Regions from separate parts of the Homo sapiens genome. Here regions 2 and 3 are each linked to region 1. Evidence: promoter capture Hi-C in 16 types of primary human blood cells and fetal thymus (Javierre and others, 2016). All regions are on one chromosome and are shown on one strand. Each heading gives the region's core, a stretch centred on a gene start or on the middle of the fragment in contact. The rest is flanking DNA. Distances are from core to core; before and after follow the strand shown.

Region 1 (4,595 bases), core at 2,096-4,595:
TGCTTGAACCCGGGAGGTAGAGGTTGCAGTGAGCCGCAGAGGTTGTAGTGAGCCGAGACGGTGCCATTGCACTCCAGCCTGGGCAACAAGAATGAAACCCCGTCTAAAAAAAAAAACAAAGAAAATTGAATGTAAGTGTTTAGAAACTTTTATAGCAATTTTATAGAGTGTTTTACCTGTTGAATCTAAAAACAAAACAAAACAAAACAAAAATTATGGGTTTGTTTTTTGTATGTCTTAAAAAAAAAGTCCTCTTTCTAGTAATTCTTTTTTGTTGCATTTTACCAAAGCACTAATCTGCAGCAGATTGAGGGCAAACAAACAAACTGGTCCCTTACCAGAGATAGGCTGAGAAGCACTGAAAAGAACATTTGCAAATCCAGGGAACAGGGCAGAGGTAGTACAAGTGAGATTAAGAATATATTCAAGAGGTAACTTGAAGCCACAGGCTATTTTAGAAAACAAAATGATGTGAAGAGGCCAAAAGAAAAAAAAGAAACTTGGAAGGACCTAAACTGGGGACATAAATGTATTTCTATTGTAGAAATACAGAATGGGAACGATTGGACTTATGGTTGTAATGTCAGGTAAGGTGTCTATTTCAGGAAAGGCATGTAGGATTAGAAGTATGGACCTAGGCCTGTTGCGGTGGCTCATTCCTGTAATCCCAGCACTTTGAGAGGTCCAGGTGGGAGGATCTCTTTGAGCTCAGGAGTCTGAGACCAGCTAGAGCAACATGGTGAAACCCATCTCCACAAAATTATCCAGGAGTGGTAGAATCCTGCCCCAGCCTTCCAAGTAGGTGGCACCTGTAGTCCCAGCTACTTGGAAGGCTGGGGCGGGAGGATTGCTGAAGCCCAAAAGATTGAGGTTGCAGTGAGCCAAGATCACACCACTCCAGCCTGGCGACAGAGCAAGACTACGTCAAAAATAAAAAACAAAAAATAAAAATAAAAAGACGGGGTGTTTCATTTGGAAAAGAAGAAAGGGGGGTTTTCAATTATTTGGAGGGCTCTTGCTTAGAGGATAGCATGGGCCTGTTTTGTATAAGTCCCCAAAGGAACAACAAAGGCAAGGGCTCAGAGAGGCATAAAGAATAATTCTCCAGGCATTGATTGTCCGTCCATAGAAGGAATATGAGGACCTCATAACAGAGGGAGTTCTCAGCCCCTGGACCTGTTCAAGCACAGACCAGCACATCTTTTGGCTGGGAGGCTATAGCAATTGTACCAACATCTGATAGGGGGCTCAACTAGATGACAAGGTTTCTTTCAAATTGGATGGTTATGATAATGAGTGAAATTTAGACAAGAATTTGCAAACTAGGGAGGGTCCCACAGAGAATGATGCTGAAGAGCTGAAGAAAGAAGCCAAAAAAGGAGGCCAGAGAAAGAGCTCCAACGAGGCTGTCTGGTAGCAATGATGAATGTTCTGCCATCTTGGGAAAGCAGCTGGCACTGATGAGGACAAAATAACTAATAGACAAGTTTGCTGCTGCTGCTTCCAGCCAAGCAGACCCCATAGTTGTGCACTTAACAGTGCATCATAGGGCTCCTGCTCCTTGCGGTGATGTGTTATGCTGGCCGGACTTTCCAACAAATGCCAGACAAATCAGCGGTCTGGCTGGAGTCCTCCACCGGCAAAAATGCGCAAACCCTGGCAACAACAAAGATGATGAGATGAGATTCAGTCCAGACCCGTGACATGCCATTAGATCTTCCTAATCACCAGAGAGCAAATCCTTACTCTGTGTACTGGACACTGTGCTAAGAACTTAATAGACATGGGGGCTGGGTGTGGTGGCTCACACCTGTAATCCCAGCACTTTGGGAGGCTGAAGCATAAGGATCGCTTTAGCCCAGGTGTTGGAGACCAGCCTGGGCAACAGAGTGAGACCTCGTCTCAAAAAAACCCAAACAACAACAACTAGCTGGTCATGGTGGTGCACGCCTGAAGTCTCAGCTACTCGGTAGGCTGAGGTGGGAGGATCACTTGAGCTTGGGAGGTGGAGGCCGCAATGAGCCATGACTGTGCCACTGCACTCCAGCCTAGGTGACAGAGCAAGACCCTGCCTCAAAAAAAAAAAAAAAAAAAAAAAAGAAAAAGAAAGAAAGAAAAAGAAAAAGAAAAAGAAAAAGAAAAAAAAGAAAGAAAAGAAAAGAAAAAGAAGAAAATAGACATGATCTCACATATGTGAAAGATCCCACTATCCCCATTTAACTGATGAAAATATTAAGGCTCAGAGCAGGCAACGGACATCCCTAACTCATCTAGAGATTCAGTGACAGAGTTAGAGTACTCAGGGCTCCAACTCCCATCTGACCATTAACTCAAACCACCTTTGTTTATCTCCCCCGCCCCCCGCCAGTAAACACTCTCTAGTAAACACCTTGTCCACTAAAGCACCGTGGTTTCCACGAGGGACTCCTTCGTGCACAGCCATCCTCACTCTGCAGGAACTCTTAAGTTTCAGTGAATGAATGAATTTGGAGTGGTCAACAAGGGGTGCACAGTTGCAACTTTTAAAATATTGCAGAAGGAGAGAAATGCCACAAAACAAAATGCACATGGAAAAATCACTACCTTATTTCAAAATATTTACAGCTTCACATTTAAGGCCACCCAAAGCGTGGCGGTCAGTGGTGAGAAGGCAGAGATCAGAGGCTGTTGGGGTGGGTCATACACCATGATTCCCGGCCCCCCTCTGGGAGATACAAGGTATCCCACAGTCTTCTCTCCCAGTTACATCCTCCACGGAAACCACAAGATGACTCGCTCAACTTTTTCTAAAGTAGAAAAAAATATGCTTGTGTGTGTGTGTAAGGGGAGGAGAGGGGATGTGAATGAAATGGAGGGTAGTGTAATAATTCCTGTAGTCATAAGACACGCCAGTTGGTAGTTGCTAGTATTCCAGACACTTCCTAACGCCAGACAAATGCCCCAAGCCTCGGCATGTCTGGCCTAGAGATCTATTCAACTGATAGCAGCCGCCTCTTCTGGGGAGAGCAGATCTTTCAGAAAGCACTGGCTGCGCTGCTAATCAAACGCAACATTGTTCTCAGCAAGGAGGAAGAATGGAAAGGTTTGTTTCAGAGTCACAACTTTATTTTTTTTAAAAGGCACCCAAGTTGTTTCAACAAGCTGCTACAAAACTTGGGCTTCCTGAGTGGAGGCTGTTTTGCACAGTGCATGTACTGTACAAAAATCCAGGCAGGGAGGGGTCAGAGAGTTCGTCATTAAAGAAAAAAAAAAAAAAAAGCCCCAGGCACTTGATGCCTGGAAATGATGTCAGACGCAGCCACTCCTCTGTTAGAACTACAGCCAAACAATGCGCAGGCAATCCACAGCAGCTGCCCCTGCAAATGTCAGCGCCAGCCCAGTCAAAAGAGCTTGAAACCTACCAAGCCGGAGGACTGTGCTGTGCCTCTCTCGCCCACATTTTCCCCAAGCACTCTCAGGAACCTGGCAACAGGTAACGTGGCAACCTTTGACTTATAAAAGGGCAAGTGGCACAATCTCAGGGAACAAATGGACTTTTTTTTAAAGCCAGCATCTCCCCCACCACTCCCACACCCCCCTCCCTCCCTCCCTCCCTCCCAACCAAAAGTCTGTAAAAAACAAAACATTGACGCGGGCAGTCCTACTCTCTAGTGTCCCCTTGTGGCCAAGCCTGGAACATCACATCTGTACGTTGCAATCTGTGGATCAGCTACGAGGTAAGTCGCTCTTTGGAAGGGGTGGAGGTCTTTGCTGGACTTGTCTTCCGAAAAGTATGAAGAGTGGAAGTCAAGGCTCAGAATGGCGTCCTTTTTTACCTTATCACCTTAACAAAAACTTCACCTTAGCTGCAGGGTTAAACCTCTGGGTTGGGGCTGGGGATTTTCGTTGTTGTTGTTTTAAAGCAGCAGCCAAGGCCATGTTTTTTAAGGTGGTGAGTTAAACGGAGCAAGAGCTGCGGTAGCCTTTTCCACCCAATCTCTTTCTTCACATCCTAGTCACAGCCAAGGGTAGGGTGGATGGCAGTGAGGATAAACAGCCCAGAAACAGGATTCCTGCAGGGTGGGACTGGCATTTTCCATTTTTATCTGAAGTTGTACTTTGAATGCAGACACCTTTCTCTCAGGCCAGAAGCACTGCTCATTTGTATTGCTGGCTTCCAGTTAGCCTATTTGCAAGGATTACTTAGGATTTCCAGACTGCAGGCCCAGCTACCCAGAGAGTGTGCCTCAAAGCCCCACCTCAAAGCTTTTATCTCTATGTGGCGGGAAACACCCACGAAAATGCCAACGGCGGTATTTGTAACTTGCCTTCTTCCTTTTGGGAACTGCTTTCTGCAGCTCTCTCTGCGTTAGAGGAATAGCTACAGCTGGGAGCTGCTCCAGCCACGCAGGAGGAGAGGGCACCCATTGAGAGGCGGGCACCCCTTCTGTCTCCCTCTGGCTATGTTAACTGGAAACTAGGAAAGGGGTTCAGATCAAAGTAACTGCTGTCTTCAGAAAGTTCCATTCATTAACTAAGTTAGCGGAAATTAAATGGTGTTTGGAGGAAGGTCATTTCAGAAGGCCCAGGGCCAGAGGCTGAGGTCTAAAACTTCT
Region 2 (4,595 bases), core at 1,377-3,876, 950 kb before region 1:
TTTTTTTTTTTAGGTTTACATCACCGGAACAGGAGGAGGGACACACCCAACAGCTGTAGAAGCAGGAAATATCTAATACAAAACTAAAGTACAAAAACATGAAAACAGAGTCTTTGCGCATATTTTGTTCCTGCTGACTGCCTTGAAAAAGTCTACATTTCCTATACATATGATTGGGAATGGGGAGGGCTTGGTTCTCCTTGTGCAACATATTCAGCATGATTTAGGCAGTTTTATCTCTGCAAATTTATTGTTTCCTTTGGAGAAGTATTCATTTTCTAAATCACATCTCAGAAGTATCAAGAGTTATGTACCACAGGACAGCAGGGGGCAATTATAGAAGTCAGATTCACGTCAAGCCAGAGTACATTCTGTGAGGAGGAACTGACCCAGGCTTGGCAAGTGTCAGCTTGAATTAACCTTTTTTTTTTTTTTTTTTTTTGCCAGGAGTCTCCCTCTGTCGCCCAGGCTGGAGTGCAATGGCACAATCTCAGCTCACTGCAACCTCCACTTCCCCAGTTCAAGTGATTCTCCTGCCTCAGCCTCCCGAGTAGCTGGCATTACGGGTGCGTGCCACCACGCCCACCTAATTTTTGTATTTTTAGTTGAGACAGGGTTTCGCCATGTTGGCCAGACTGGTCTCAAACTCCTGACCTCAAGTGATCTGCCCGCCTCAGCCTCCCGAAGTGCTGAGATTACAGGCGTGAGCCATCGTGCCCGGACTTAAATTAACTATTAATAGGGATATTTAGAACTGAAAAATACACATTTTGAGGAATGTGACAAAAAGTGTCCTTATTTTTCATAATTGATATGGTTATGGATGGCTAATGACCTGTGTGCTATAGGATCTGTGTATCTTGTGTGGGGATGCTGCATTCTAACTCTAGAACCGGCCAATTGCCTTGTAAGGGGAGGATGAGTAATATAGTTTTAGAGAAGAGATTATTTCTCTCTAAAGAAAGTGAAACTTAGATAAGAAACAGAAATTTAGCCCGGGCGTGGTGGCTCACACCTGTAATCCCAGCACTTTGGGAGGCCGAGGCAGGTGGATCACGAGGTCAGGAGATAAAGACCATCCTGGCTAACACGGTGAAACCCCGTCTCTACTAAAAATACAAAAATTAGCCGGGCGTGGTGGCGGGCGCCTGTAGTCCCAGCTACTCCGGAGGCTGAGGCAGGAGAATGGCGTGAACCCGGGAGGCGGAGCTTGCAGTGAGCCGAGATGGAGCCACTGCACTCCAGCCTGGGCGACAGAGCGAGACTCCGTCTAAAAAAAAAAAAACAGAGAGCGAGAGACTATGTTTTTAGAACAGTTTTAGGTTCACAGCAAAATGGAAAGAAAGGTACCTCCTGCCCCCACACATGCCAGCTCCCTGGTTTTCAACATTGCCCACCAGAGAGCAGCATGTGTTACAATGAGGGAATCTATGCAGATACATCATAACCACGGAATGTCCGTAGTTTACATAAGGGTTCACTCTTCATGTTGCACATTCTTTGGGTTTGGACAAATGTATAAGTGACATGTATTCACCACTATGGTATCAGACAGAATAATTTAACTGCCCTAAAAATCCTCTGTGTTTTGCCTGCCCATCCCTCCTCTTCGCAGCCCTTGGGCAACCACTGATCATTTTCCTGTCTCCATAGTTTTGCCTTTTCCAGAAATGTCATATACTTGACATCATTCAGTATGTAGCCTTTTCAGATTGGCTTCAATATATTCTTTTCTATATCCATCACCTTTTTTGTCCCATTTGGTTCAGTGTTTCTCAAAATGTGGTGTTTGAACTATCTCTGTCAGAACCACATGAAAGTTGTTAAAAATATACATTCTCAGTCTCATATTTGACTGATTCAAAATATTAATATCTGGGTGTGGAACCTAGGAATTTGTATTTTAAACACACAGTACAGGTTATTCTTACACATACTATAGTCTGAACACCAGCAAAGTCTCTACTATGCTGCCAGGAATTAAGGTGGGGACGTATGTTCATAAAAGGTGATAGTGGCCGGGCGTGGTGGCTCAGTCCTGTAATCCCAGCACTTTGGGAAGCCGAGGCAAATGCATCGGCCTCCTGACCTGAGGTCAGGAGTTCGAGATTAGCCTGGGCAACATGGCAAAATCCTGTCTCTACAAAAAATACAAAAATTAGCCAGGCATAGTGGTGGGCACCTGTAGTTCCGGCTACTAGGGAGGCTGAGGTGAGAGAATCTCCTGAGCTCAGGGAGGTGGAGGCTGCAGTGAGCTGTGATTGCACCGCTATACTCCAGCCTGGGCGACAGAGTGAGATCCTCTCCCAACCACAAAAAAAAAAGTAATAGGATTTACCAAAAAGGAGCTGGCAGTGATAGCAATAGAAAGGGACCCCAAAGGGAAGATCGGGGCTTCAAAGTCTAGCTATTCTACAGAGCCCATGTGTAACATGTGTAAATTCCCCATCTATTGCCAATTGTATAGTTTTAATTTGATTGATATTGCAGGAGCTAGCGATTTCCTGCAGACTTTGACTCTTTCTCTCTGGAGAAGCCTAGAAATACCTTATGTATTATTTGACAACAGATGAAGCCTGAGGTTTTCATCTTGGACTACCGTTAAATCCTTACGAAAGTGACCTTCTTTGAACTAGACAATACCTCCTGTAACCATTTTAGTAGGATCTCCCTTGAGTTTCAGTTCTACCTTCTCCAAGTTCTACAAAGACTCCTCATCAGTATTTCATGTGGAACCCAAATGAAAGGTTGGGAATTGCTGATCAGTCTGCTGTGTGGCCTAATGAGGCCTGGACACCTGAGTGATGACACAGACACACAGGAGCCCCAATAATAATTTATACTTGCTCTTTGTCACACATGCGTGCCATGCACACCCTACTCTATGTCTCTGTATGGTCAGTCCCTCCTTCCCTCTCTCTTTTCCTTCCCTCCATATGCCTTATGCCATTGCTAATCTCCTATAGAAGCAAAACTCACGCTTTGTTCTGCTTCCAGTATGATTAAGCACATCACATACTATAGATAGGAACAAAATCAAACCACTTCACATTCTCAAGAAAAACTTAAAAGAATAGGGTCATCCTGACTGGTTCTGGTCTCCAAAATAATAAACTCTAAAAAATTTGCAGTGAGCCTGGATTCTCTAAATAATGCTGTCCCTGACTTTTGCTATGCTGATATGAATGATCTTTTTCTTTTTTTTTTTTTAATTTTTTGGAGACAGGGTCTCACTCTGTCACTTAGGCTGGAGTGCGGTGGCACAATCATGGCTCACTGCAGCCTCGACCTCCTGGGCTCAAGCGATCCTGTCATCTCAGTAGCTGAGACTACAGGTGTGTGCCACCATACCTGGCTAACGTTTGTACTGGGTTATAGAGAAGGGGTTTTGCCATGTTGCCCAGGCTGGTCTTGAACTCCTAGGCTCAAGTGATCCACCCATTTTAGCCTTCCAAAGTGCTGGGTTTACAGTTGTGAGCCACCATGCCTGGCCAACATGAATGATTTTTGCATATATGATACCTGTATGAGTAAGTGGCTTTTTTCCTCACCTTCAACAGGCTGATATAAATTTAGTGCCCTGATAATTTTGTCTTTCTTTCCATTTGAATACTTGTGTTTTCAATTTGCTGAGCCACTCTTTCTGGCTTCATCAGAAAGAAGTCTGACACCCTTATACTGACAGCAAGTTAAGTTTCTCTTTCCTGGTCTCTTTTTCTTCTGTTTTTAATTTTCAGAGTAGAATTAGGCTTTTTAAAATAATACATATTTTTAAACTGACAAATAAAAATTGTATATATTTACTGTGTACAACAGGATGTTTCAAAATATATATACATACCCTACTGGAGTGGGTAAATCAAGCTAATTACCATATGCATTACCTTATATACTTATTATTTTCATTATGAGAATCTCTTTCCTCTTCTAAATGCGGAAGTCTCCTGAGGATCTCTGTGGCACTCTCTTCCAAGCCTTTGTACTGTGCTCTTGGGAATCCCTTCTATTGCAGTAATAGCACTTCTCTCCCCCAGCTCAATGAAAGCATCATCATCTACCCAGTGACCTAAACCCTAAACTTGGGAGTCATCTGTGATTCCTACCTCTGCTCACTTTTTTTTTTTTTTAATACAGAGTCTTGTTCTGTTACCCAGGCTGGAGTGCAGTGGCACGATCTCGGCTCACTGCAACCTCTGTCTCCCGGGTTCAAGCAATTCTCTGCCTCAGCCTCCTGAGTAGCTGGGATTACAGGCACCTGCCACCACACCTGGCTAATTTTTGTATTTTTAGTAAAGATGGGGTTTCACCACGTTGGCCAGGCTGGTCTTGAACTTCTGACCTCGTGGTCCACCCACCTCAGCCTCCCAAAGTGCTGGGATTACAGGTGTGAGCCACTGTGCCCGGCCAATGAATGAATACTTCTAATAAAGTGTCACAGTTATTTCTGTTTTTTGCCTGTTTTTTTTTTTATTTTTAATCTGTCTTTTTAATCTTGTGTTCAGTGCTCATTGAATTGCCCTTTGTTGCATAGCTAGCTAGAAAGGGATTAGGTTTGGCACCTGGGAGCACAAGTCCTCACTCCCAGATCAATTTAC
Region 3 (4,595 bases), core at 883-3,382, 610 kb before region 1:
AGCAGTCAAGTGCATCTGAACATTAAGAGAGTAAAGCTGAACAGCCTAATTTAGGATCAGAGTAATTATGGCCTGACTTGTGTCACAACTTTTGGACAACATTTTCAACAAAATAAAGCCAAAAGAAATGGAAAACCCTCTGTTCTGCTCAGGCAGGACTCCTGAGGCCTCAGTTGCTTGACAGGGGTGGAGGTCGGGGGTGAAGAGGGGGCCTGTTAATTGCCTAATTGTTTCTGTTTAAATGTCTTTTTCTTCTCCCATTTCACCTCTGAATAGCAGTTTGCACAGTGATGACACCCTTAGGTATACGATTTTCTGTTCTGGGGTTATATCACCCCCATTTCATTCAAACTCAAAAAATCCTGTTGAAATGCAAGTCTTACTATCATCAAATTTTAAAACACTAAATAATTTTCAAAGTGTAGTGCTTTAATCTTTTCAGAAACAAATTACTTGTTATAGACTCACAATAACAGGGGTGGCTCAGTGCATCACAACACTGAGGCCAAGTGAAGGTGCTGGAAGAAGCCAGTGCTGGGTTCCTATACTCCAGATCAAAAAGTGAGATAGCTTAAAGCTTGTCCCCCAAAAACAGCAACAAACAACAAATAAGGTGAGCAAGAGTTGATTATATCATTAAGACAATCCAAAGAAAATATAAGTGAAAATTATCACAAAATGTATCGGCATCATGTAGGAACCCCTCATCCTCACATTCCTTGACTTATTTTTTTCCACGTGGACATTTCAGGTCCATCTTTGACTCCAATTTTCTCTTCCATAGCTGGTTCCTCACAACAGTTCTAATTCAAGATTTTCTCGACCACCTGAAAAACTGGTGATGGTTGTTTAAATTATTCTGTTGCTGTGATCTCTTTCAATTACTTAAAAATTTTTTATTTAAAAGATATTTGTAATCAGCTTTACTTAGTAAATTACTCTTAGTAATTACTCTTCTTCCTGCCACCTTCTTCCATCTATAGAAACGAACGGCTGCTGTAATTTTAAGTGTACTTAGAATCCAGGAGGGTGGATCACTTGAGGTCAGGAGTTCAAGACCAGCCTGGCCAACACAGTGAAACCTCATCTCTACTAAAAATACAAGAATTAGCTGAGTGTGGTGGCTCACGCCTGTAATCCCAGCTACTCAGGAGGCTGAGGCGGAGGTTGCAGTGAGCCAAGATCATACCACTGTTCTCCAGCCTGGGCGACAGAGTGAGAGACTGTCTCAAAAAAAAAAAAAAAAAAAAAAAAAAGAATCATCATGAGTGCTGCCAGCAGGCCAGATGGGTAACAGTATAAATTACTTATCTGTAGCCTTAAATGGGTCCCCAACAGAATCTGGCAACCCTCCTTTGTTTCTGTGGTCAGCTCTCTCTCCAAATTTCTGGTTCTTTTTCAAACTTCCATGCTCCTCAACCTGACTATATTCTGCCACTCTATTTCCCCATCAGAATGTACAACATTCCATATTCTTGAATGCAGGCTCATTTATGCTCTTCAGGAGAAACGGCAAAAATGACTAATATACTTTGCTATGAGAATAAAGAATTTAGTTTCACAATGTTTAGAAATTCTAATGCTATACTTAAGTGTTATGAAGAATTTTATTTAATTGGTGAAATTTAAATTAAAATGAAAGTAACTGAATTCTTAAATTATTACACTCAGTGAATCTGCCTACTTCAATCTAAAGCTTGACTGAGATGTGTAAGAAAAAGAGAAAACCTGAAACACTGATACTCAGCTTTATATGTAAGTTATATTCTACACATACAGATGAATCCAATTCCAGATGGTGACGGTAATTGCAATCTCCAGTGAGGGTAAAGCCTCAATGCACTAAGTAGTAAAAGAAAAGGGGAAAAGTTAGTCAGCTTTGCTACTCTTTCAAGTTAAATGCTGGTAATGTCTAAGATTTAACCTTGTAATGTCAAGACACAGATAGGATTCAAAAAGCAAAGAGGCATCTGAAAGTTGCAACATGAGAAGAAATGCTCCCTCTTCTAAGGATAAAGCACCATTGAAACAGAACAAGTGTGACATTTCATTTTATTTTTCTTCCAGACTCAACATACTTTAATATAAAAAAGCTCTCTCAGGAACAGGGCATTTAGTTTGTGTAAAAATCTTCAGCCTTTGCAACAAATTAATTGTATTCAATTTGAAAAAGTATACTTCAAGTACAACATAGGTATTTATATTGAAATCATAGAAGAAAACACAATCCTGGCAGCCAAGCACTATTTATTTAGTATTTACTCTAAGCCATACCCTGGAATTAATCCTTTGCATATATTATCTCTGATCTACACAATTCTCATGAAAGACAGATTTGCTTTATCCCTATATTTTACAGATGAAGAAATGGAGGTTTAGAGAGAGGTTATGTTAAATATCCAAGGACAAACCAGCTAGAGCTCAAGATGTCTTCCACAGTACCTTCTTAGACTCATTATTTAAGCTGAAATTCAGATTTACTATGCTAAGTATTTCTAAAATCTCAAACATTATGCAATGCATCTAAAAGAAAAAAAATGCCTAGGAATAAATTTAACCAAGGAGGTGAAAGCTTGTACAAATAAAATTGCAAAAATCACTGAAAAAAAAAATTAAAGATAACCTCAGTAAATAGAAAGACATCCGTGTTCGTGAATAGGAAGACTCAATATTGTTAAGATGCCAATATTACCTAAAGCGATCTTCAAATTCAAGGCAATCCCTATCAAAATTCCAAAAGCCTCAAATTCATATGGAGTTACAAGGGGCCCTGACTAGCCAAAATAATACTGAAAAAGAGCTAAGTTGGAAGACTTCCATTTCTTGATTTCAAAACTTTCAAAGTTACAGTAATCAGGCTGGGTGCAGTAGCTGACGCCTGTAATCCCATCACTTTGGGAGGCCAATGCGGGCAGAACACTTGAGGTCAGGAGTTCGAGACCAGCTTGGCCAACACAGTGAAACCCCGCCTCTACAAAAAATACAGAAATTAGGCAGGTGTGTGGCAGGCTCCTGTGGTCCCAGCCACTCGGGAGGCTGAGGCAGGAGAATCACTTGAACCCAGGAGGTGGAAGCTGCAGTGAGCTGAGATTGCACCACTGCACTCCAGCCTGGGTGACAGAGTGAGACTCTGTCTCAAAAAAAAAAAAAAAAATTACAGTAATCAAAACATTGTAGTACTGGCATAAAACAGACATACAGACCAATGGAATAGACTTGAGAGTCCAGAAATAAACCCAAACATTTATGGCCAATTGATATTTGACAAGAGTACCAAATCCACTGCATGGCGGAAGGAATAGTCTCAACGGATGGTGCTGACACAACTAAGTTTCTATATGCAAAAGAATGAAGTTGGAACCCTACTTTACACCATATTAAAAAATTAACTCAAAATGGATTAATGACCTAAAACCATAAAACTCTTAGAAGAAAACATAGGGTAAATCTTCATGATCTTGGATTTGGCAAATGATTCTCAGATATAACACCAAAAGCATGAGTAACAAAAACTAGATAAATTGGATTTCACTAAAAGTACTTTTTTTTGTATCAAAGGACATGATCAAGAAAAAGAATCATACAGAATGTAAGAAAATATTTGCAAATTGGGGAGTTTAACTCTAGAATATATTTAAAAATTCCTACAACAACTAAAAGACAAATGATTCAATTAAAATATGGGCAAAGGATCTAGATAAACCCTTCTTCAAAGAAGATATACAAAATGGCAAATAAATACTTGAAAAGATGCTCAACATCATTAACCATCCGGGAAAGGCAAATCAAAACCACAATGAGATACCAATTCATACCCACTACGATGGCTATAGTTTCTGTTAAAAAGGAAGAGAGTGGCCAATGGCCGTGACTACTGCAACACACACCTCATCCATGACTCTCCATTTATGAGAAAGACATATTGCAGTGGTAGGAAACAGAGACAGAATGTCAAAGATTACTATTAGAAATGGATGGAAGAACAGGCTCAGAGCCTGACTGACAAAATAAGGGTTGCACTTCAACAAGGAAAGATACTTCCTACTTCAATCTCTGTTCCCCGCCGGCAGGGACAATGATACTACCTCCCTCCAGTCTTCTGGGTCCTCCTCATCCTGGTATGATGCCAGCACCCCACACGGGGCCCTCCTCCTGGGATGATGCCAGTGGGACCTGCTCCTGGAATGAGGCTGCCCATGGGAGGCCACATGCCAATGATGCCTGGGCCCCCAATGATGAGACCTCTTGCTTGTCCCATGATGGTGCCCACTTGGCCCAGAATGACTCGAGCAGACAGAAAGGATAGAGGGGAGGCCTCCCTATATCAGTTTTATATTGCTTGCTCTGCTTCACCAGGAGATCACAATGCTGTGACTCTGGGTGTTTTCTTATCAGTCTGATACAGAAAAGGTGCTCCCCCTTCCTATTAAAGAAAGAATCATTTTGGAGTGGAGAAGTGGGACAAAAAAAGTGCAGTTTTTATCTATATTGTGAAATATGAAAATAAAATTGTCAACTTTTTTTAAAAAAGGAAAATATATGTTAGAAAGAAAACTGGAGAAACTGAAACACTTGTGCACTGTTGGTGAGAATGT

What was found. Contacts are between HindIII fragments. The CHiCAGO score rates a contact against its expected background, and 5 or more counts as called.
Region 2: a contact is called between a fragment that was not itself captured here and the fragment with the promoter of DLGAP1-AS1 in region 1, in 1 of 17 cell types (total B cells). The highest score is 5.8, in total B cells.
Region 3: a fragment that was not itself captured here is called in contact with the fragment with the promoter of DLGAP1-AS1 in region 1 in 1 of 17 cell types (total B cells); the score reaches 5.8 in total B cells.

Annotation. Positions count from the first base shown.
Region 1 is chr18:3,590,769-3,595,363 of GRCh38, forward strand. It overlaps DLGAP1-AS1 (DLGAP1 antisense RNA 1), which reads left to right and starts at 3,346. Exons shown (of 3, transcript NR_024101.1): 1 at 3,346-3,472; 2 at 3,652-3,716. All of the region lies in intron 7 of DLGAP1 (DLG associated protein 1), which reads right to left. RefSeq lists enhancers at 2,986-3,105, 4,518-4,595 and a silencer at 4,103-4,397. The HindIII fragment of the contact is 5,788 bases long and covers 1-4,243 here.
Region 2 is chr18:2,637,114-2,641,708 of GRCh38, forward strand. No RefSeq gene overlaps it. Among named protein-coding and RNA genes, the nearest start is that of SMCHD1, 16 kb to the right of the region's middle. RefSeq lists an enhancer at 173-222. The HindIII fragment of the contact is 5,288 bases long and covers 1-4,595 here.
Region 3 is chr18:2,986,783-2,991,377 of GRCh38, forward strand. All of the region lies in intron 1 of LPIN2 (lipin 2), which reads right to left. It also overlaps the pseudogene SNRPCP4. Among named protein-coding and RNA genes, the nearest start is that of LPIN2-AS2, 22 kb to the left of the region's middle. The HindIII fragment of the contact is 876 bases long and covers 1,695-2,570 here.